Linked DNA regions of Homo sapiens: regions 1, 2, 3 and 5 are each linked to region 4. The links are contacts of gene promoters, found by promoter capture Hi-C in blood cells and fetal thymus (Javierre and others, 2016). All regions are on one chromosome and are shown on one strand. The core of a region is centred on a gene start or on the middle of the fragment in contact, and the rest is flanking DNA. Distances in the headings are between cores, read along the strand shown.

Region 1 (3,732 bases), core at 594-3,093, 580 kb before region 4:
CACTTACATTAGGTATTTCTCCTAATGTTATCCCTCCCGTAGCCCCACACTCCCCGACAGGCCCCAGTGTGTGATGTTCCCCTTCCTGTGTCCATGTGTTCTTCGTTCAACTCCCACTTATGAGTGAGAACATGCAGTGTTTGGTTTTCTGATCTTGTGACAGTTTGCTGAGAATGATGGTTTCCAGCTTCATCCATGTTCCTGCAAAGGACATGTTTTCATACAGTTTGCCATGTGCCTGCAAAAACTACCTATTATCCTCAATGAACATGCATTCAGAGTCCACTAGAGGGCAGCCCTGCACTTAGAAACTGAAAAATGTTTACTTGGCAAAGGGAATGTATCCTCTCTTGGGCCACGATGACCAGAACAATCAGAATGAATAACAAGACACTGTGAAAAGCTTTCAATAGGATTTCAGTTTTTCAACACTTCTTTAGTCATGGGCTGTGGCCTAATGTAACAACAATTAGTATCAGCCCTTGAATGTCTGATTTTTAAACTTTTCCAGATACCTAATAGACATTATTTCACTCAAGCCTCAAAATAATTCTATGAGCAGTGAGCTATCTTTATTGTTCAGATAAGAAAACACAGACTCAAAGAGCAGAACAGGGGTGGGGTCAAGATGGCTGACTAGAAGCAGTGGCAATCAGAGGCTCCCCTTGAAAAGAACCATAACAGCATGCGAATCCTGCACCAGCAACTGAGGTATCCAGATTCCAACATCGGAAATGACTAGGTGGCTGCTGTGATCCACAGAGAAGAAGGAAGAGTAGTGTGGTGTGGTGGCTACACAGGGCAGAGGAGTCCACTCCCCCCAGCCAAGGGAGTCAGTGAATGAGCATACTACCCAGCCTGGAAAATGTCCTTTTTCCATGGAACTGTGCAACCCATGGTTTGGAAGATCCAACTCATGAGTCCATTCCACTGGGGTCTAGGGTCCCAACAATGAAGCCATACAGATTCTCAACAGGCACTAAGCTAGAATCTGCTTAAGGCTGCTGAGCTCCTGGGGGAGGGTGATCAGCACCACAGCTGCAGTTGCCTGCTGTCTAAGCCGTTTGGACTCCTTGGGGGACGGGTGACAGCCAACACTGGGACTGATAGCTGCCTAACAAACTAAGCTCTAAGGGCAGGTGAAGGGCAGCAGCCATCTCTATAGCTCCAGGCCAGGCTTTTCCCCTGCTGGAGCTGGGGAGGCTGGACAGCTTGGTCCCAAGAGGTATCCCCCACAGTCCAACACAATGGCTGTGGCAGATTGCGGACAGAGTGCCTCTTCAGGCCTGACCTTGACCCATCAAGGCAGGGCCTCCCTACAGGAACTCCAACAACTTCAGCCAGGGACTCAAGGACAGAACTCTGATCTCCCTGGGCCTGAGCCCTAGCGGGAGGGGTGGCTGCAGTCTCTGCAGACCAGTAGACTTATTCTTTCCTCCTGCTAGTTCTGAAGAATTCAGGCAGCCCAGATGTGTGGGTTTCCCCCCAGTGAAGCACGCCCAATCCACCAAGGGACAAAGTGCTTTGTTAAATGCGTTCTGCTCCCCTTGCCACCTAACTAGGTGAGATCTTCCAACAGGGGTTGTCAGACATGCTATACAAGAGCGTTCCTACTGGCATCAGTTAGGTCAGAGATCCCAGAGGAAGGAGCAGGCACCCATCTTTGCTGTTTTCCAGGCTCCTTGTGTGACATCTCCAGGCATGGGAATGAACCAGATGAATAGGGCCTGAAGCGAACCCCCAGCAAACCACAGCAGCCCTACAGAAGAGGGACCTGATAACTGCAAGAAAAACAAACAGAAAGCAACAACAATGCAACAACAACAATAGCATCAACAATAAAAAGTCCCCACAAAATCCCCACCCAAAGGTCAGCAGCCACAAAGATCAATATTAGACAAACTCATGAAGATGAGAAAGAATCAACGAAAAAAACGCTGAAAATCTAAAAGGCCAGAGTGCCTCTTCTCCTCCAAATGATCACAATGCCTCTCCAGCAAGGATGCAGAACTGGATGGAAGATGAGATGGACAAATTGACAGAAATAGGCTTCAGAAGGGGGGTAATAACAAACTCCGCTGAGCTAACCGAGCATGTTCTAACCCAATGCAAAGAAGCCAAAACCCTTGATAGAGGGCTACAGGAGCTGCTAAATAGAATAACCAGTTTAGACAGGAACATAAATGACCTGATAGAGCTGAAAAACACAGCACAAGAACTTCATGACGCATACACAAGTATCAATAGCCAAATCAACCAAGCAGAAGAAAGGATATCAGCATTTGAAGACCATCTTGCTGAAATAAGGCATGCAGACAAGATTAGAGAAAAAAGAAATGAAAAGGAATGAGCAAAACCTCCGAGAAATATGGGACTATGCAAAAAGACCAAACCTACAATTGATTGGAGTACCTGAAAGAGACAGAGAGAATGGAACCGAGCTGGAAAACACACTTGAGAATATTATCCAGGAGAACTTCCCCAACCTAGCAAGACAGGGCAACATTCAAATTCAGGAAATACAGAGAACACCACTAAGATATTCCATGAGAAGACCAACCCCAAATAATCATCAGATTCTCCAAGGTCAAAATGAAGGAAAAAGTGGTAAGCGTAGCCAGAGAGAAAGACCAGGTCACCTACAAAGGGAAGCCCATCAAACTATCAGCAGACCTCTCAACAGAAACACCACAAGCCAGAAGAGAGTGGGGGCCAATATTCAACAATCTTTTTTTTTTTATCATTATACTTTAAGTTTTAGGGTACATGTGCACAATGTGCAGGTTAGTTACATATGTATACATGTGCCATGCTGGTGTGCTGCACCCATTAACTCGTCATTTAGCATTAGGTATATCTCCTAATGCTATCCTTTCCCCCTTCCCCCACCCCACAACAGTCCCCAGAGTGTGATGTTCCCCTTCCTGTGTCCATGTGTTCTCATTGTTCAATTCCCACCTATGAGTCAGAATATGCGGTGTTTGGTTTTTTGTTCTTGCAATAGTTTACTGAGAATGATGATTTCCAATTTCATCCATGTCCCTAAAAAGGACATGAACTCATCATCTTTTATGGCCACATAGTATTCCATGGTGTATATGTGCCACATTTTCTTAATCCAGTCTATCATTGTTGGACATTTGGCTTGGTTCCAAGTCTTTGCTATTGTGAATAGTGCCACAATAAACATACGTGTGCATGTGTCTTTATAGCAGCATGATTGAACATTCTTAAAGAAAAAAATTTTCAACCCATAATTTCATATCCAGAAAAACTAAGCTTCATAAGCAAAGGAGAAATAAAGTCCAACATCACTGATCATCAAAGAAATGCAAATCAAAACCATGCCAGTCAGAATGGCAATTATTAACAAGTCAAGAAACAATAGATGCTGGCAAGGCTGTGGATAAATAGGAATGCTTTTACACCGTTGGTGGGAATGTAAATTAGTTCAACCATTGCCAAAGATAGTGTGGCAATTCCTCAAGGATCTAGAACCAGACATACCATTTGACCCAGCAATCTCATTACTGGGTATATAACCAAAGGAATACAAATCATTCTATTATAAAGACACAGGCAAACATGTTTATTGCAGCACTATTTACTATAGCAAAGACATAGAGCCAACCCAAATGCCCATCAATGATAAACTGGATAAAGAAAGTGTGGTACATATACACCATGGAATACTATGAAGCCATAAAAAGGAATGACATCACGTCGTTTGCA
Region 2 (4,031 bases), core at 362-2,861, 920 kb after region 4:
TCAGCCCTCTAAGCAGCCGAACGCCATTTCATTTCATGTCTAATCCTCATGAAAGGAAACTCCAATCCCCTGCCACGTAATTAAGAAAGACAAGATTGTTTTATTATTATTTTATTTTCATATACAAAAAGATAAAACTTGAAATAGTTCTAGATTTTTCCTCCTATTGTTGGGGTGTAACTGCTTCTTCACACAGGGGGAAAAAACTACATTCACATCGGTTTATTTGAGGACCCAGTGCAGAGTTCAAGCAGCAAAACCCCAACTTAGCAGATCTAATTTCAAACTTGACACTCATTTCTAAAATTACCACAGTAAAAAGGAACAAAGATCCACTGCAAATGAATGAACTATGATACAATGTTCTTTCCAAAATGTTTTCATTTTGCAACTGTAATTACATGGATGTCTGCTTTAGGCCATTTTAGGTGTATGTGTGTGTGTGTGTGTGTGTGTGTGTGTGTGTGTGTGTGTGTGTGTGTGTGTGTGTGTGTGTGTGTGTGTGTAATATATATATATAAATCAGCACACTTTTCAAATCCAGACAGGGTAACAGCAACAAGCTTAACTCTGTATATATATATATATTTTTTTTAAACATGATACTTTAGTATAACTTTTGTTAATTCAGTAGTACAAGCTATTTCTGTTCTACAAAATTTTTATTTTATAGCTACAAGGGTGAAAAGTGACCTACTACATTTACATCTCACATATCCTGGTATACAAACAGTACTTATTTGAGCCAAAAACTAGAAGTCTTTAGTTTTAGCACTTGAAAGAGCTTCCTTGCTTCTACAGCCTTAAATCATATACTAGTCACATTTCCAGAGTTTGCAATTACTCATCATTTTAAACTGTGAGAAACAGGTGAACCCAAACTTTTAATTACAATTTTTATATACAAGTTAGGTAACACAGCTCAATAAGACTTAGCTATCCATCCTAAGCCCAACACACACATTCTCCACTAAGTTAGACAAGTCTTAGGGTTTTCCTTCTTTCCCTTACAAATAATGTACAAATTTAGAAGTAGCTGGTAAAACTGATAGATATATATAAGATGGCAAATAAAAGGTGACATTTTCTGTTGGTTCCAAAACTGTTCCTGCAAATTTTGTCCTTTGCTGTGTTCTTTAACCGTATGTGTTACATGCAGAAAGCTCTTTTCATAAGAATTGACAACAAACTCGATGTAAGTTAAATTTACAGTACTGTATAAAGTTATTCAGATTCAAGGACAAATGTGGAAAAATATTAACAGGTGAAAAACTTGGCCTTTGACACTACCATTAAGATCATGTCCAGTTCATAAGCAGATTTTTGTACAGTTGAAAAATGGCATTGTTGTGGATTTGTGGTGTGGAACTGAAATCTAGAAATATATTTCTACTCTGCGGTAACCCTCTCCCTCAATTCTGAAGTACCACTCAACTTTCTCTGCATTTTTACAGAATTACAGAAAAAAAGAGGAAAAAAAAGCCGCTGGCATTTTAACAATTCCTTCCCTCACTGGCAGTCTTAACATTTTCAGATGAGGTCTCCTGAAGAATCTCTAATAATCACTTGCTCCCAGTCGGCCTTTCATGATGACTTGGACACTTTTCAAGTTAAAACTCAGATGTTGCCTAATCTTTTCTACTCTCATCTCTGTCATTGTTGGTAAAATTTGGGTGACTGCATTTTTCCCTTACGGAGAAATTATTTGGCTAAACACACACTTAACTCGTGGCAGTGCTCTGAGAAAACCCCACTCGGGCTAAAGCACTTGCAGGGACTGAAGTCAACAGTCCACTGAATGGGGCAGAGAACAAACACTTAAGATGACTGACTTGGGACCCTCACTGGGAACACACTGACCTTGTGTCCCATGGTCTGCGGAACAGCAGGTCTACAGGACTGCAGGAGAGCCCAGGAAGGTAGCCCATGCTCGTATAGCTGAGTTACCACTTTTAATCTTGGTCTGCCATCTATGCCCCAGAGACAAAAATTCAGATGCGGTGACTGCTGGTTAATTAAACTTTTTGAACTGGTAAAAAAGGCTCTTTAAAAAATATATATATTTATTTAAAATACATCAAAATGACAAACAGCCATATCCCACAAGGCCTAATTTCACAGCAACATATGCTACAGACATCTTCCCAAAATGCACTATGGTGGATAGTGGGTTTTTTATCCTGCCATTTAAAGGAATGTTCTACATTTGAGCATTAGCGACTGGAAATGTGTTACAAAGAGCTTATCTTTGGAACTAATTTGCGTGCAAGACCAGCCAATTAAATCGCTTTGCCTATTCAGACACACAAGAATACTGAAAATGGCAGAATTCAAAGAGGAACACAGGAAGCACCATTCAGATGACACTCTAGACCCATCCCACCACAATGCCATGACGAGCTTGCCAGAAGCCCTTTCTTCAGTCCTTGGGAAGAGTTTTGCTTTAAAACAAGTGCCCACGCTCAGCAGGGTTCCTGCATGTGTACGTTAAAAGTCTGCAGTATCAAGAGGACCCAGATGGCGACACTGTTCAACATGAGGTCTGAGGTAACTGGTTCTTAAAATACCTGGATCACAGAAGTGCATCCAGAAATTAGGGCTGGGAAAAAGGAAAAAGGTAGAGGTTGGGGACTAGAAAAGACAAGTAGAAAAAAGCTTACAGCAGTTGCTTTTGGGGCGAAGAGAGTGATAAAAACAAAGGCACAACAGAATTACATTCCAAGACACGTGGCTGGAGAGCAGAGAAAATGTTCTTTTTATGGGGAACAGATGGGGTTGGTTTCTGGAGTGCTACTAGATCTGCTGGAACTAAATTTATTCCAAGTATAAAAAGGGTAAAGTGTAAACCTATACGCTCAACCAGAATGAATAAAAAGCACAGCTGGTTTAAAATGACACATTAGGGATTCTCTTGATAAAACTATCCCGTCCAGTGCACCTCTGTCTAGAAGCAGCAGCCTGAAGCCAGCGGGCAGGGTCTGGGGGACAGGTCTTCAGCTGGGCCTCAGGACTGGCCATTATGCATACCAGAAATTAACTTAATTATTCATTATATATCGCCACCAAAAGTCCCACACAAATAACCATCCACTCTCTGCCTAAAAATAAATAGGCTAAAATGAAGACCACTTTCCGTATTGTGGCAGTGATGCTGAGCTTCCTCAGAAAAGCAGGAAAACTCTGGAGCTATCTGAAAGATGCTCTGCTGTTACTGGGGTTCTGAGCTTCCTCACTGGGCTCCTGGCTGATTCCACAGATTGAAGCAGCGAGCCAACCCAACCATTCTCACTGACCAGAGAGGACAAAATGTGCCTGGCAGCTCTCCATTTAATTGGATCACTGCATCCACATGCCACCCTCCCCACTTTTCTGAACAATTACTTAACTGGGTAATTCTGCCCCCCAACCTGGATAATGTGATCTTAGATAATTCAGTCTGGTGGATTACTCAAACCACCAGATTCTCATTTCAAAGTTTTTGTACCTGAATCTTATTCGAGTCCCATCCCACCCCAATAGGCACCCCTATACAATTTCTGTTCCCCCAAACACTCTCACATGACTATGTCCTATGGCAAAGGCTTACAAACTAATTTTTGACCTCAGAACCCTTTGTTCAACAGAAATCTCAGGAGGAAGCACCAATGTAAAACACATTGCAGGCCCTCTCTCCTCCCAATCCACAAGAAGCTGAGCTGAATATCACTGTCCTACACAACCACAAGTGGAGTTTTGGCCAAAAAAGACCCGCAAATTGACTCCAGTCTGCCAGTGTATCACAAGAATCCATATAAACACTAAGTAAAAGTTCCACACCACTCATGCTCCAGTGTACGTTTCTCTTGAAAGGTAAAGCTCATTAGCTCTGATTACAAAATCATTCAAATTCACTAACTTTATAAAAATAATCTGTGGTATAAAACAATCTCCACACTGTGTAGAAGAAATCTGTCAAGTGATATAACTAAATATATATGTAGAACTATCGATTTTTTTAAAGTAAAGTTTCAAGTGTTGTGTATCTATTATAC
Region 3 (3,573 bases), core at 431-2,930, 780 kb before region 4:
GCCCCAGGGGCAGAGTGGAAGTACCCAGGATTCATCGCCTCCTGGGAGCAGCCCTCAACCAATGAGTAGGGGAGCTGGTGGCTAAGTATCCCCCCTCTTTTGCTTGCCAGGCAGGTGAGTCTTCTACACTGGCTCCCAGAGTCCCCAGTGGGGTCAAGCTCCAGCCACCCACAGTGGCCATCTGCTCAGTAACAAGTCATTTATTGCCTGATTTTCTTTCCTTGTCTCACATTTCTACTCCCCTCCCTGTGTGTTTTCTGGGCTCACCTCCCAAATAAACTATAGGTCTTCAGATCCTCATATTAGGTTCTGCTTCTGGTGGGAGTCAAACCAAGACGCCCACATGATGCAAAGTGGACTCCGAGCATGGCTGTGGAGCACTCACTCTGAGAAGAAAGGAAAAGTCCTCTGGGCCTTCTAATCTGTCACTGAGGCTGCTCTCTGGACCATCTTTCAAGACTTGACTTATACATCACTCCTCAATTGCATATGCTTGGCCTTCCTTCCTTGAGACGCTGGCTATTCTGTTCTCTGAGCTTTGCCAAAAAGCTTTCATTTCTTAACACTCAAACTATATTATAGTTTATTTTCTTGGTTGTCTACCCTACCCCTCAATCCTGATCATGGGCTCCTTGAGGGCAGAGCCACGTCTTCTTCACTGCTATGCCCCAAGCCCCTGGCCAACTTTGCGTCTCATCCTGGGCACATGAATACTACTTGTTAATGAATACAGGCACCAAAGGCTATAGGGGCGACGGGGCTCATTGAGCAGCTCTCAATGAGCCCTGCTGTCTACAGCTTCTCCTGGGGCCCTGGGAGGAATCCAAAGGAGGCGACCCTTGATAATGCCACTCAGGGCTGGCTCTAGGGTTGACCATGTTATAAATGTGGTCCCCTACATGGTGAGGTGGCATTTGACCCATTGCCAGCTCTCCTTCTCCTGCTTTTTTACAACCCTAGGTTGCCTCATGCCTCTTTGGAAGCTAGAAGTTGACCAAATTTTCCCTCAGCAAACTTTTACTTCTTAGCAAAAACACAGATGGCTCCCTGAATACCCAGACATGTGAAAACTTTGGTGGTTGTTGAGCAGCATTATCAAAGCTGCACCTGTGCTCCAATACCACAGTCTCCCGGTCCATCAGGAACACCCCTCGGGGATCCTGCTCCCTCTTCCTCTTTCTCCAAATTCCTGCTCTTCCATTATTGTGCAGACAACTAACTCTCACTGAGTGATCCCAGAGCAGTGACAATTCCCCGATCTTTATTTCCCCAACACTGAACACACGCAGCATATACAGCAGATGCCTAATCAAGGTTTATAAAGTGAAAATGCATTTGGGGGAAACCCATTAACTGCTATAAGCAGCGTCAAGACTGAAAGCGGAGTTACTGTGGTTTACCCAAACCGCAGTGCCCCTAAGACTGACCCCAACTGTGCACGAACAGGCTCCTGAATCAACCCTTCTCCTGAGGCATAAACACAACTGCCAAATATAGCCCAGTGGGCATTCACTTTCTAAGATGACCTCCACCTTCGGAACGCTTCTATTTGATGTTTCTGCCCAACTGAGATTGAGCAATGCCTGTAGGAATAATTTGCTTCCTGCTAAACATTTCAGACATCCCTCAAGACCTCTGAGGCTGGCATGGACAGTTTAGCATGTCAAGGGCTAAAAATTCCTCAGAAAACCAGAAGTTTTCCACCCAAGTCCTTTTTAAAAAATTTTAAATCTTTATCCTGAGAGATGCATAGAGTTTTGAGCAGAATGTGAAATCTTTTTTTGGGTGTGTGATGCTGTGGAACTAAGTTTTATGTTTATATACAATTGAAAAATTACCTATGGGTGCCTAATTTTACAGAAAATTATGTACAAAATCATGTTTTGAAAACAAAATTCCTTTGCAAATTTATTATGAATGCTCATAATCCAGTTGGAAACTATTTTGTGAAATAGAGCATCTTGTAGTTGTTTTTATAATATCCTACACATTTATCACTTTGCAAGTCTGAATTTTTGTTTGTTTTTTGTTTGTTTGTTTTTATGGTAGAGAGACACTTATAATGCAGTAGTTGAAAACCTGCAAATTGGAGTCATGCTGTTTGGATTTGAGGACCAGCTCTGCCTACATTGGCTGTGGGGTCTTGAACAAGTCACTTAACTTCCCTGTCCATCAATGTTCTTATCTGCAAAACAAAATAATGACAGTGTCTGGTAATGCTGTTGGAGGAAAAAATAAAATAGTGCCTACATATGGACTCTGTATTTTTTTTATTATACTTTAAGTGACTCTGTATGTTTTAAAGTGATTTTAGAAAGCTAGATATTGTGTATTGAAGTTCTATTATGTGGTATTCTCATGTACTCTATGGAATCTAACAGTCCATTTTCTGTGTGCATTTGCAATCCATAGAGAAAGAGAGAGAAGTGAGAAAATGAGGAAGAAGAGAGAGAGCGAGAATATGAATGAATGAATATGAATAGACTGGGAGGGCAGAGGGAGGAAAGAAAGGCATATCTAGAAAAGAAAAATGCACTTAAAAAGCAAAAGCAAACACCATATACATAAGTAAAGAAACGATCACATGCTGCAGAATTTCTGCAATGTCATGGCACTGCAGTTTCTACTAATAGGTACTAAAAGGTTAATATAAAAATAATCTCTTTTGGTAAATCTTTAGAATGACAGTTAAAAATATTTAATGTTTTCTGATTCTTTGCACTGTCGTAACAATGGATTTTGTTTCTATAGTTGTTGGTTAAATCTTTTCCCTTTTAGAGTAGAAATAATAGCACAATCTTTAAAAGCTTATTACTAGGATGGCTATGCTGCTGTTAATCTTTTTTGTTGTTTTCATTATTCAGGAAAGGGGTCTAAATCTGATACGACATGGGATGAGAATACTGTTAATGCTTTCTTCATGTGAAGACAAATATGCCTGGCCTCCTGACACAGTGTGTGTATGCAGGAAATAGGAAGAGAGGAGTAGACCTGTGCAGGGGTTGGGGGAAGTTTTAGTCTGACATTCATGTAGACCAGGAGGCCCCCTGAGCACAGGGGCTTCATGGCCCTCGGCCGTCACCCACAGTGATGGGTCCAAGCAACTTACAGTCTTCTGATGTGAGACTTTAGGAAAATGACTCAGTTCATTTGAGCCCCTTCATTTTGAGGGATTACGTGACTCAACAGCTTTATAAAGGACCACATTCCATACATGTTGAAGAGTCTCTAAAGAGGCAAGCTGACTTGCCCCATGTAGAGGCAGGACATTCTAGGGGGAGGAATCAGGAAGAGCAGAGGTGCAAGCAAACATCAATGCCTTCCTCAGGATGTCCCTCAGGCAGGGATAGACAACTGCCCACCAAAGACTCTTTCATGGCCCAGCCGTGTTACTGGTATGCATCTGCCCAGCCAGGATGCCATTTCTCCGGGCCTGCATTGAGGTGGGGCCACGTGACCAGTTCCTGTCCACAGGTTGGGAGTGAAAGTGGCGTGAGCTCTCCGTGCTGAGATAGTTAAGAAGCAGGTACCTGCCTTTTCCATGCTGCCTTCCTCCATCTGCTGTCTGAATAT
Region 4 (4,106 bases), core at 329-2,828:
CCACTCTTTCCCTTTTATAATCTGCACTGATGCAAGATTCATCCTAAAACTCCTTTACAGCATGTCACTCCCAAGTCCTTGGTAGCTTTATCTCTAAAATAAGTAAGTGCCTTAGCCAACTTAATGCCTTCCATCCTCTGGTTCTTCCAAACCATATTGTTCATTCCCACCTCTTACCCCACTTTCCACTCAAAATTCAGTTCAATAGCCTGTGTAAGTACCTATGAAGTTGAAGGCACTATGCGAGCTATTAGAAACTCAGCCAATGAACTTTCTCATGTTCATGACCCAACCCAAGTCCCGTAACTCAGACAACTGACATATTCCTCCCCTGGAGCAGAAATCTTTTCTCTCAATAACAAGAACATTTATTTAAAGTATGTTTTCAACGTAGGGGTCTGGCTTCATTTAAGGAAGATAGAAAGAAATTACCCAGAACTAACCACGAGAATAGCAAGCTCAAAATTTGTACTTACAGCTGGAGTAACAAAAAATTAAAGCAATGACTAACCATCACTTTTCCTTTTATAGATGTACTGTTCCATCTGGAAGTCAAGATTGGTGCCACCTAAGTGGGTTCCTGCTGCAAGGAACTTAAGGACATCCTCCTCCTTCATTTGCAGGACATCAAGGGCTCCGGACATTGTGAAAATTTCCCTTTAAGTTACGACGGGAATCTGAAATAAGAGAGCAACCTATTTCTTTTCATTCCATTGAGTTAAGTAGGGCACACCCTTAAAAGCAACCAAAAACTCCATCTGCTATAGTGTCAGGCATTGAGCTTACAGTGTAGTGAAGGGTAAACAGAAAGTTAACCCATACATGTCGTGTATTACGGAACAGCGCACATCTTACTGAGGAAATAGTGTGGACGGCAGAGTAACCGAGTAATAAAACTACACGAAATTAGCGAATGGAAATTCAACACTTCTCAAGATAGGAATTAAGGAAAAGTTGTGGATGCGCCAAGTTAACAACTAGATACAAAAGAGCAGCCATGTTTGGAATATGCAAACTAAAGGCAAAAAAGGCATGAATTGTTTTCAGACATTTTCAAGCAGATTGTAGGCGGATGCTTTGGAATTACTTCGCTGTGCTGTCACCACTTGTTTGTCTAAAAACCCGAGAACCTTAACTCCTGACCCGCACGGCGCGAAGGGAAAACCCGACCAGCCCAAGTAGCTGGTGTAAATCAGCGCCTGGGCCTAGACTCACCGCCGTGTGGGACTCCGAAGGGATAGCAACACAGGATGTTAGCCCGCTTTCTGCACTCCCGCCCACCCGCGGCCTGGTCCGAACCCCAGCTCGGAGCCTCCGCTGGAGGGCGGCCTCCACCCGCTCCCGGGGCACTCTGGGAACCCGCCAGCCCGAGCCTGGCCACGTGCGGGCCGCAGGCCTAAGGTGGGGCGCGCCGGGCGGGAGACAGATCCAGTCTGACCGGCTTTCATCACTAGTCTTCTCACCCTTCATTTGAGCAGGAAAAGCTCATTTTTCTAGCCCTGGAAGGCGCCAGGGACGCTACACGGAACTCACCCAGAACAACGCCGTATGGACCCCTCTGCAGGTAGCACGGAAAAGACAGGCGGCAGGAAATGACGTCCTTATGTACTCCGTTGTCAGCCAATGGCAAAGAAAGTCGAGCGGAAGAAGGGCGGAGCCGGAGAAGAACGCTGCCGGGACTGGGCTTTTTCTTCAGGAAGGCGGGCTTGCGCCGCAGGAGCGGGCCTCTGGGCTGTAGCCGGTAGCGGCATCCTGGTCGGATCTGGGGCGCTTGTGACTTTGGGGTTTCTAGTGCCACAGCGACGCCCTGTGCATAATTCCTGTCCAGAGCGCGGAACTCAAGTTAGTCAGCCAGGCGGGGCGTTCTTACCCAGCCCTTGTACCTGCGAATATGAGCGGCTTTCTAGCCTAAGCTGCCATTTTGTTACCTGAAAAGTAGGAAGGTTTGTTCGACACAACAAATTGTTAGGTAAACAAAAACTTGAAGATTTATTTTATTTTATTTTCCTGGAGAACAGTTTAACAGGACGTAATTCAGATTTAAATGTTCACTTAAGGGAAGTTTTCTCTGAAAAAGTTAAAAAAGATAAGATTGAACTGATCGTATGCGTTATGTCTATCTCATGTATCTATCCATCTATCACCTGGGGGAAGTTTCCCTGAAAAAGTTAAAAAGGACAAGATTGAACAGATGGTATGGATTATATCTATCTTTTTTTTTTTTTTTTTTTTGGTAGAAGAAAAATTTTGCAATATCCATCAGTAGGAGATAAGTTTGCCGGGCGCGGTGGCTTGTGCCTGTAATCCCAGCACTTTGGGAGGCCGAGGTGGGTGGATTGCCTGAGCTCAGAAGTTCAAGACTAGCCTGGGAAACATGGGGAGACCCCCATCTCCACAAAAAATACAAAAATTAACCAATCATGATGGTGCGTCCCTGTAGTCTCAGCTACTCAGGAGGCTGAGGCAGGAGGATAGCTTGAGCCTAGAGGTCAAGTCTGCAGTGAATGTGATTGCACCGCTGCACTCCAGCCTGGGCAATAGAGCGAAATTCTGTCTCCAAAAAACAAACAAAAAAATAGGAGTTAATTGAAGGGGCGCGGTGGCTGTAATCCCAGCACTTTCGGAGGCTGACGCGGGCGGATCCCTTGAGGCCAGGAGTTCAAGAGACCAGCCTGGCCAACATGGCGAAACCCGGTATCTACTAAAAATTCAAAAATTAGCCAGGCATGCCTGTAATCCCAGCTACTGGGGAGGCTGAGGCGGGAGAATTGCTTGAACCCAGGAGGCAGAGGTTGTAGTGAGTGGAGATTGCGCCACTTGCACTCCAGCCTGGGCGACAGAGTAAGACTCCGTCAAAAAAAAAAAAAGTGCAGGTTCCTCTCTGGGGCCTGCTGAGTCAATCTGATTTCTGAGCCCACCCTAAAATGAACTCGTAGACCCTTATGGCCACTCTTCCAAAGGACAGCACATCCAGGTTCTCCTGCAAGTGGCTCTGCAGCTCCACTGAAGCCAGTATGATTTTCTGAGGAGCTTGGAAACCCTTGGACCCTAGCACAGGTCACCCCCAGGCTGCTCTGCTTCATCACCCACCAAGGCTGAAGCACCTGGGGCTTGAGGGACAAATTCAGAGAAGTCACAGCCCCTTGCGGCAAATGCAAATGCCTCCCGCTTCTACGCTTTGTTATGGGAAGAGGAGGCATTCAGTTTGTTGGCAGAAACTCAGGCCACAAGCCTCCTCAGAGGCCCCTGAGTCCCAAAACAATGCCCTGCCCCCTGCACCCAAATGTACTCCTGCTTAACCCTTCACGTGTGGATTGGGATTGCTGAGTAGTGAGTGCAGCTCTGCAGGGTTCCTCCAGGGGCCTCAGCCTTGGCATTAGGATCACCTGGGCAGCTTTTAAAATCTTACACCTGGGCTGAATATATCAGAATCTCTGAGTGAGACCCAAGCATCAGTAGCTTTTAAAGCTCTTGTAGGGGCTTCCCCTCCACCCTCTGAGTGTTCACTGCTAAAATGAACTGACAATAGACAAATTAACAGGAGAAGAAACATACACTTTTTTTTTTTGAGACGGAGTTTTGCTCTTGTTGCCCAGGCTGGAGTGCAGTGGCTCAATCTCGGCTCAACGAAACCTCCACCTCTCGGGTTCAAGCAATTCTCCTGCCTCAGCCTCTCGAGTAGCTGGGATTATAGGCATGCGCCACCACACCCGGCTAATTTTGTATTTTTAGTAGAAATGGGGTTGCTCCATGTTGGTCAGGCTGGACTTGAACTCCTGACCTCAGGTTATCTGCCCACCTCGGCCTCCCAAAGTGCTGGGATTACAGGCGTGAGCCACCACACCAGGCCAAACATACACATTTATTAATGTGCTTATGCACAGGAGCCACACGAAATATAAGACTCAAAGAAGGGCCAGATGGCTGAAGCTTAAATAGCATCTACTTCACAGGGAAGGGAGATGGGATGGTAAACAATTTAGAGGGCTAGTAAGTGATTTTTGGAAGGATAGGAATGAGTTCAAAGAACAGAAAATTTGCCTGAGACAAAGTTCCTGTGAGCTCTGGGGGAAACAGCAGCAAAGGGTAAGGGGAGGAACTTCACT
Region 5 (4,062 bases), core at 386-2,885, 760 kb after region 4:
CAGGCAAAACTAGCAAGGGGAATTCGATGTGACTGTAGTAGTTAACTCTGGGTGGGTGTAGCGGTGGTGACAGAAAGGGGCACAAAGAGGTCTTCTGTGGTACTGATAACGTTTGGTTTCTGTGTTGTGCTGCTCACACGGATGTGTTCAACAACAGAAAACCCTTTCAAGTGAACACTTAGGATTTGTGCAGTTTTCCATTATGTAGGTTCAATGGAAGTAAAACATAAAAAGAAAAGCTTTGGGCTGTTAGAAGAGAAAATGCATATGCACAAACAACAATACTACCTGTTTTACAAGGATGTGCACATAAAGACCTACTTTAGCTCCTAGAGGGGTGCCTGTGTGGAGAAGGAGATGGCAGTGGAGTGATGATGGGGGAAGAAATAAAACAAAAACACAAGAGAGGAGTAATGATATGGTTAACCCAGCTTTGAACCTGAGGCAAAGTAAAGGCAAACCCTGGGCGAAACTGAGGGGCGAATAAAGGACATACTAGTTTTTAAAAACATTTATCTCTGACAGCTGACAACATGTTCCTGTTATTGCTTTAATTAAATAGGGTTGGCCAGACATGGTGGCTCACGCCTGTAATCCCAGCACTTTGGGAGGCCGAGGTGGGTAAATCACGAGGTCAGGAGTTCGAGACCAGCCTGGCCAACATGGTGAAACCCCGTCTCTACTAAAAATACAAAAAATTAGCTGGGCATGGTGACGAGCACCTGCAATCCCAGAGACTCAGGAGGCTGAGGCAGGAGGATTGCTTGAACTGGGGAGGCGGAGGTTGCAGTGAGCCGAGATCACGCCACTGCACTTCAGCCCTGGAGGCAATGCAAGACTCCGTCTCAAACAAAACAAAACAAAACAAAACAAAAAATTTAAATAGGGTCTGGCAAAGAGAAGGGAGTAGCCAAGATCTTGGCAAGGGCTCTTTGTAGGAAGTGCCTGTCTCCAGACACCTGTTGCCTGTCTCTGCACTCTGAGGCCTCTCTAGGACCACAAGGTGTGCTTTTATGGATGAACTTCTACAGGTTCAGAGCTCTGGTTCCCCATCCCCTGGGCTTCTCTCCCCCTGTTTAAATTCAGGGTGCATGTAGACTTACCAGGCTCAGCCCACCTCTCCTGCTGGCAACATCCAGTTGCCCAATACTAAACAGGAGAGTGAAAACCCCACTTCTGCTACATATGGACGGAAGGGAGGCAGGTATCCACCCCTACTCCCAGCAGCTTCTATCCTAGCCTTGTCTCCTGCTTGACCCAATGTCAGTTTGCAAGTAGAAGCTTCATTCTGAGGCCGAGAAGCCCGTGATGGAAGTTCTTAGGGGAGGTAGGACCTTCCTGCTACTGTACTCTCCTGCCTGGTAGGTGTGACTCTGGGAAGGCGGCTGCACGTGGGTTGAAACGTTGACACTGCCTGCACTTCCCCTTCTGGCCGATAGTGGGAGCTGCTAGCCAACCTGAGGCTCGTCAGGCGCTAAAGGCTGGCAGCCGACCTGTGTGGTCCATCCGTCTGTACCCCAGACACCCCACTCAACTCGGGGCCGGAGAGGCCCATGTCCTGAACTTTCCTGTGGACTGACTTTCCTACTGATCCCCTCCTGCAAGCAGAGCAGCCCCTCCGTATGTACCTAAGGCGTCCAACGAAGCCCCACACCCAGGTCGCAAACGGACGCTGTCCCCCACCCCCCTCTTTGCCCTCCCACCTCTTCAAGATCCCCATCATGGAGGAGCAGGTCCCAGCCTCTGGGCTCCCAAACCCAGCACCTCTGTGCCCTCTGAGACCCTGGCACCCATTTGGCTCTCTAAGAGCGGTTCTTGCTTTTGGGAGCCCTGAAAATGTGGCAGAAAAGTGTACCATCCCTTCCAATGACTGTACTTTTTTCGTGGGCAAAAGCTGATGGCCTGTTTTTTGTTGTTGTTTTGTTTTGTTTTTGTTTTTGTTTTTAGAAGCGCAAGATTTATTGTGAAGAGGGAAAGAACAAAGCTTCCACAGCGTGGAAGGGGACCCAAGCGGGTTGCCCTGATGGCCTGTTTTGTTTAAACAAGAAGTGTGTCCCCATAGGTCCTGGGCATGGGCATGGGAGCAACTGTTTGTCAGCGTATGTCTCCGTGTGTGTGTGCCTGTGACCATGTCTCTGAGTGAGAAACAGTGGGTGTGTAAGTATGTGACTCCAGGCTCTGCATGTGTCAAGGTGAAGGTTGTATGTGGCTCAAGAGGGTGGAAGTATATATATAAAGAGGTATATACATGTATATATATGTATGTGTGTGTGTGTGTTTGCGCGCGCGCGTGTGTGGGTGTCTCTGTGTTGGTTGCCTGCTTGCTTCTGGGTCTGGGTGTGTGTTTGGTTCTGTCAGCATGTGCGTCCGTGTGTTCAGGTAGATGTGTACCATTGTGCAGATTTCTGTGGCATCACTAAGTGTGTCTCCAGGAAAGTGTGGTTCGAGTGAGTGTGTGTGTCTCTGTGTCAGTGTGTCAGTGGATGTGTGTCTAAGTCATGTGGGTGTCTAAGTTTGTCAGAGTGTCTTCCTCAGTGTCAGTGTGTGTCAATGATGTGTCTGTCTGTGTCTGTGTGGGTGTGTGGGGGTGTGTATCTGTCTCAGGGTGCATGTGTGTGTCTGTGTCAGTGCAGGTATGCCTATGGCAGCGTGTGTCTGTCTCGGCATGAGTGTCAGTGTATGCCCGTGTCCACGTGGGTGGGTGGGTGTCTGGTAGCCTTCCCAAGTCAGCAAGGTTGCGTGTGTGTGTGTGTATACTCTGGCGGGTGCTGGTGTGTATGCCAGTGTTTGTTAATGTGAGCCTGTCCGCGTCCGCGTGGGTGGCCATCTGTGGTGAAGCGTCGCCGGGTCGCCGTGTGTGTACCCCCGCCTATGTCTGTCTGTCCGCGGCCGCGTGTGCGGCTGTCTGTGGCTGTGAGCCCCCGGGTCAGTGTGGGAGTGTGCGCCCCGGCGGGCGCTGGTGTGTCCCCCCTCCGAGCGGGCGGAGCACCACGTGCGGAGCCCTGGGCGCGTCGCTCTGGGGCGGAGCCAGCCCGGGGCCCCAAGCCCCAGGCCGAACCCAGGCGGGGCCCGCCCCGACCCCGCCCCCGACCCCGCCCCCAGCCCGAGCCCGCGCCGCCTGCCCAGCCCGGGAGCCCGAACAGAGCCGCGGAGCCGAGACGGCGGCGGCGCCCGTAGGATGCAGGGATCGCTCCCCCGGGGCCGCTGAGCCTGCGCCCAGTGCCCCGAGCCCCGCGCCGAGCCGAGTCCGCGCCAAGCAGCAGCCGCCCACCCCGGGGCCCGGCCGGGGGACCAGCAGGTGAGCGAGTGCCCCCGCGCCCGGCAGCCCTGGCCCGGCCGGAGCCCCCTCCGCCTGCCGCCGCCCAACTTTCCTCCCCGAGGGCCGAAGCCTCCAGTCCCTGCGTGCTCCTCCCTGCCCCGGGTCCGCCCAGCCGCTCCCTCCCCGATCAGTGCCCCAGAGAGCCGGAGGGGGAGAAGGGGCGCAGATCCGCCCGGCTGGAGGGTATCCCCGGGGGAGACGTCTCTAAACACCGTGCGCCCCCCTTCCCTTCCCTTTCCTTCCGGGTTTCCCGGTGCGCTGTCGAGGGCCGGGGGAGGGGGAGCTGCGGCCCCAGCTTCCCGGCCATCCCTGGCGCAGGCTCGGGGAGGGTCTGGGATTGGGACCCGGATACCGGAGGCCGGAGACCCCAAGGTCAGAGCGGCGACTAGGCGCGCCATGAATGTGGTTCCAGAGAGCGGGGTTTGCGGGGGCTGACCGAGCAGGGCTGGATATGGGGGAGGAAGCCACGCACCCCCTTTCTCTGGGCCCAGGGGGAACCGTCCGCTGGGGCTGTCCTCTCTGTGGGACGAGATCTCTGCGCGTTTAGACCATGTAGAGATCTCGGTGCCCTTTGACGCCCTAAAGGGGCCGCATCTCCTCTGTCTGATCTCTGTGCTTCTCGAAGGGGTGGAGATCTCTTTGCGGTGAGATTGGAGAGAGTTCTCTGCCCTCCTCTCTCTGAGCCGGAACAGATCCACGCACCCTGATGGGAGGTGGCTCTCGACCTCTGTGTTATTTGATCG

What was found. The method cuts DNA at HindIII sites, captures the fragments that hold promoters and counts their contacts. A CHiCAGO score of 5 or more calls a contact.
Region 1: a contact is called between a fragment that was not itself captured here and the fragment with the promoter of RPSA in region 4, in 1 of 17 cell types (megakaryocytes). The highest score is 5.1, in megakaryocytes.
Region 2: a fragment that was not itself captured here is called in contact with the fragment with the promoter of RPSA in region 4 in 1 of 17 cell types (total B cells); the score reaches 7.0 in total B cells.
Region 3: a fragment that was not itself captured here is called in contact with the fragment with the promoter of RPSA in region 4 in 2 of 17 cell types (megakaryocytes and non-activated CD4 T cells); the score reaches 6.4 in megakaryocytes.
Region 5: a fragment that was not itself captured here is called in contact with the fragment with the promoter of RPSA in region 4 in 1 of 17 cell types (activated CD4 T cells); the score reaches 5.8 in activated CD4 T cells.

The regions. Positions count from the first base shown.
Region 1 is chr3:39,987,321-39,991,052 of GRCh38, reverse strand. All of the region lies in intron 2 of MYRIP (myosin VIIA and Rab interacting protein), which reads right to left. Among named protein-coding and RNA genes, the nearest start is that of MYRIP, 180 kb to the right of the region's middle. The HindIII fragment of the contact is 2,876 bases long and covers 406-3,281 here.
Region 2 is chr3:38,489,207-38,493,237 of GRCh38, reverse strand. ACVR2B (activin A receptor type 2B) reads right to left here. Exons shown (of 11, transcript NM_001106.4): 11 at 96-4,031. Among named protein-coding and RNA genes, the nearest start is that of EXOG, 5.1 kb to the left of the region's middle. The HindIII fragment of the contact is 2,092 bases long and covers 566-2,657 here.
Region 3 is chr3:40,183,062-40,186,634 of GRCh38, reverse strand. All of the region lies in intron 9 of MYRIP (myosin VIIA and Rab interacting protein), which reads right to left. The region is part of intron 2 of EIF1B-AS1 (EIF1B antisense RNA 1); the gene reads left to right. Among named protein-coding and RNA genes, the nearest start is that of EIF1B-AS1, 120 kb to the left of the region's middle. RefSeq lists enhancers at 1,047-1,096, 1,437-1,546. The HindIII fragment of the contact is 2,258 bases long and covers 552-2,809 here.
Region 4 is chr3:39,404,192-39,408,297 of GRCh38, reverse strand. RPSA (ribosomal protein SA) reads right to left here and starts at 1,578. Exons shown (of 7, transcript NM_002295.6): 1 at 1,534-1,578; 2 at 512-677. The coding sequence starts at 644. RefSeq lists a silencer at 1,195-1,374 and enhancers at 1,545-1,684, 1,066-1,857, 3,443-4,106. The HindIII fragment of the contact is 4,276 bases long and covers 1-3,932 here.
Region 5 is chr3:38,648,767-38,652,828 of GRCh38, reverse strand. SCN5A (sodium voltage-gated channel alpha subunit 5) reads left to right here and starts at 3,142. Exons shown (of 28, transcript NM_000335.5): 1 at 3,142-3,298. RefSeq lists a silencer at 3,024-3,183. The HindIII fragment of the contact is 703 bases long and covers 1,284-1,986 here.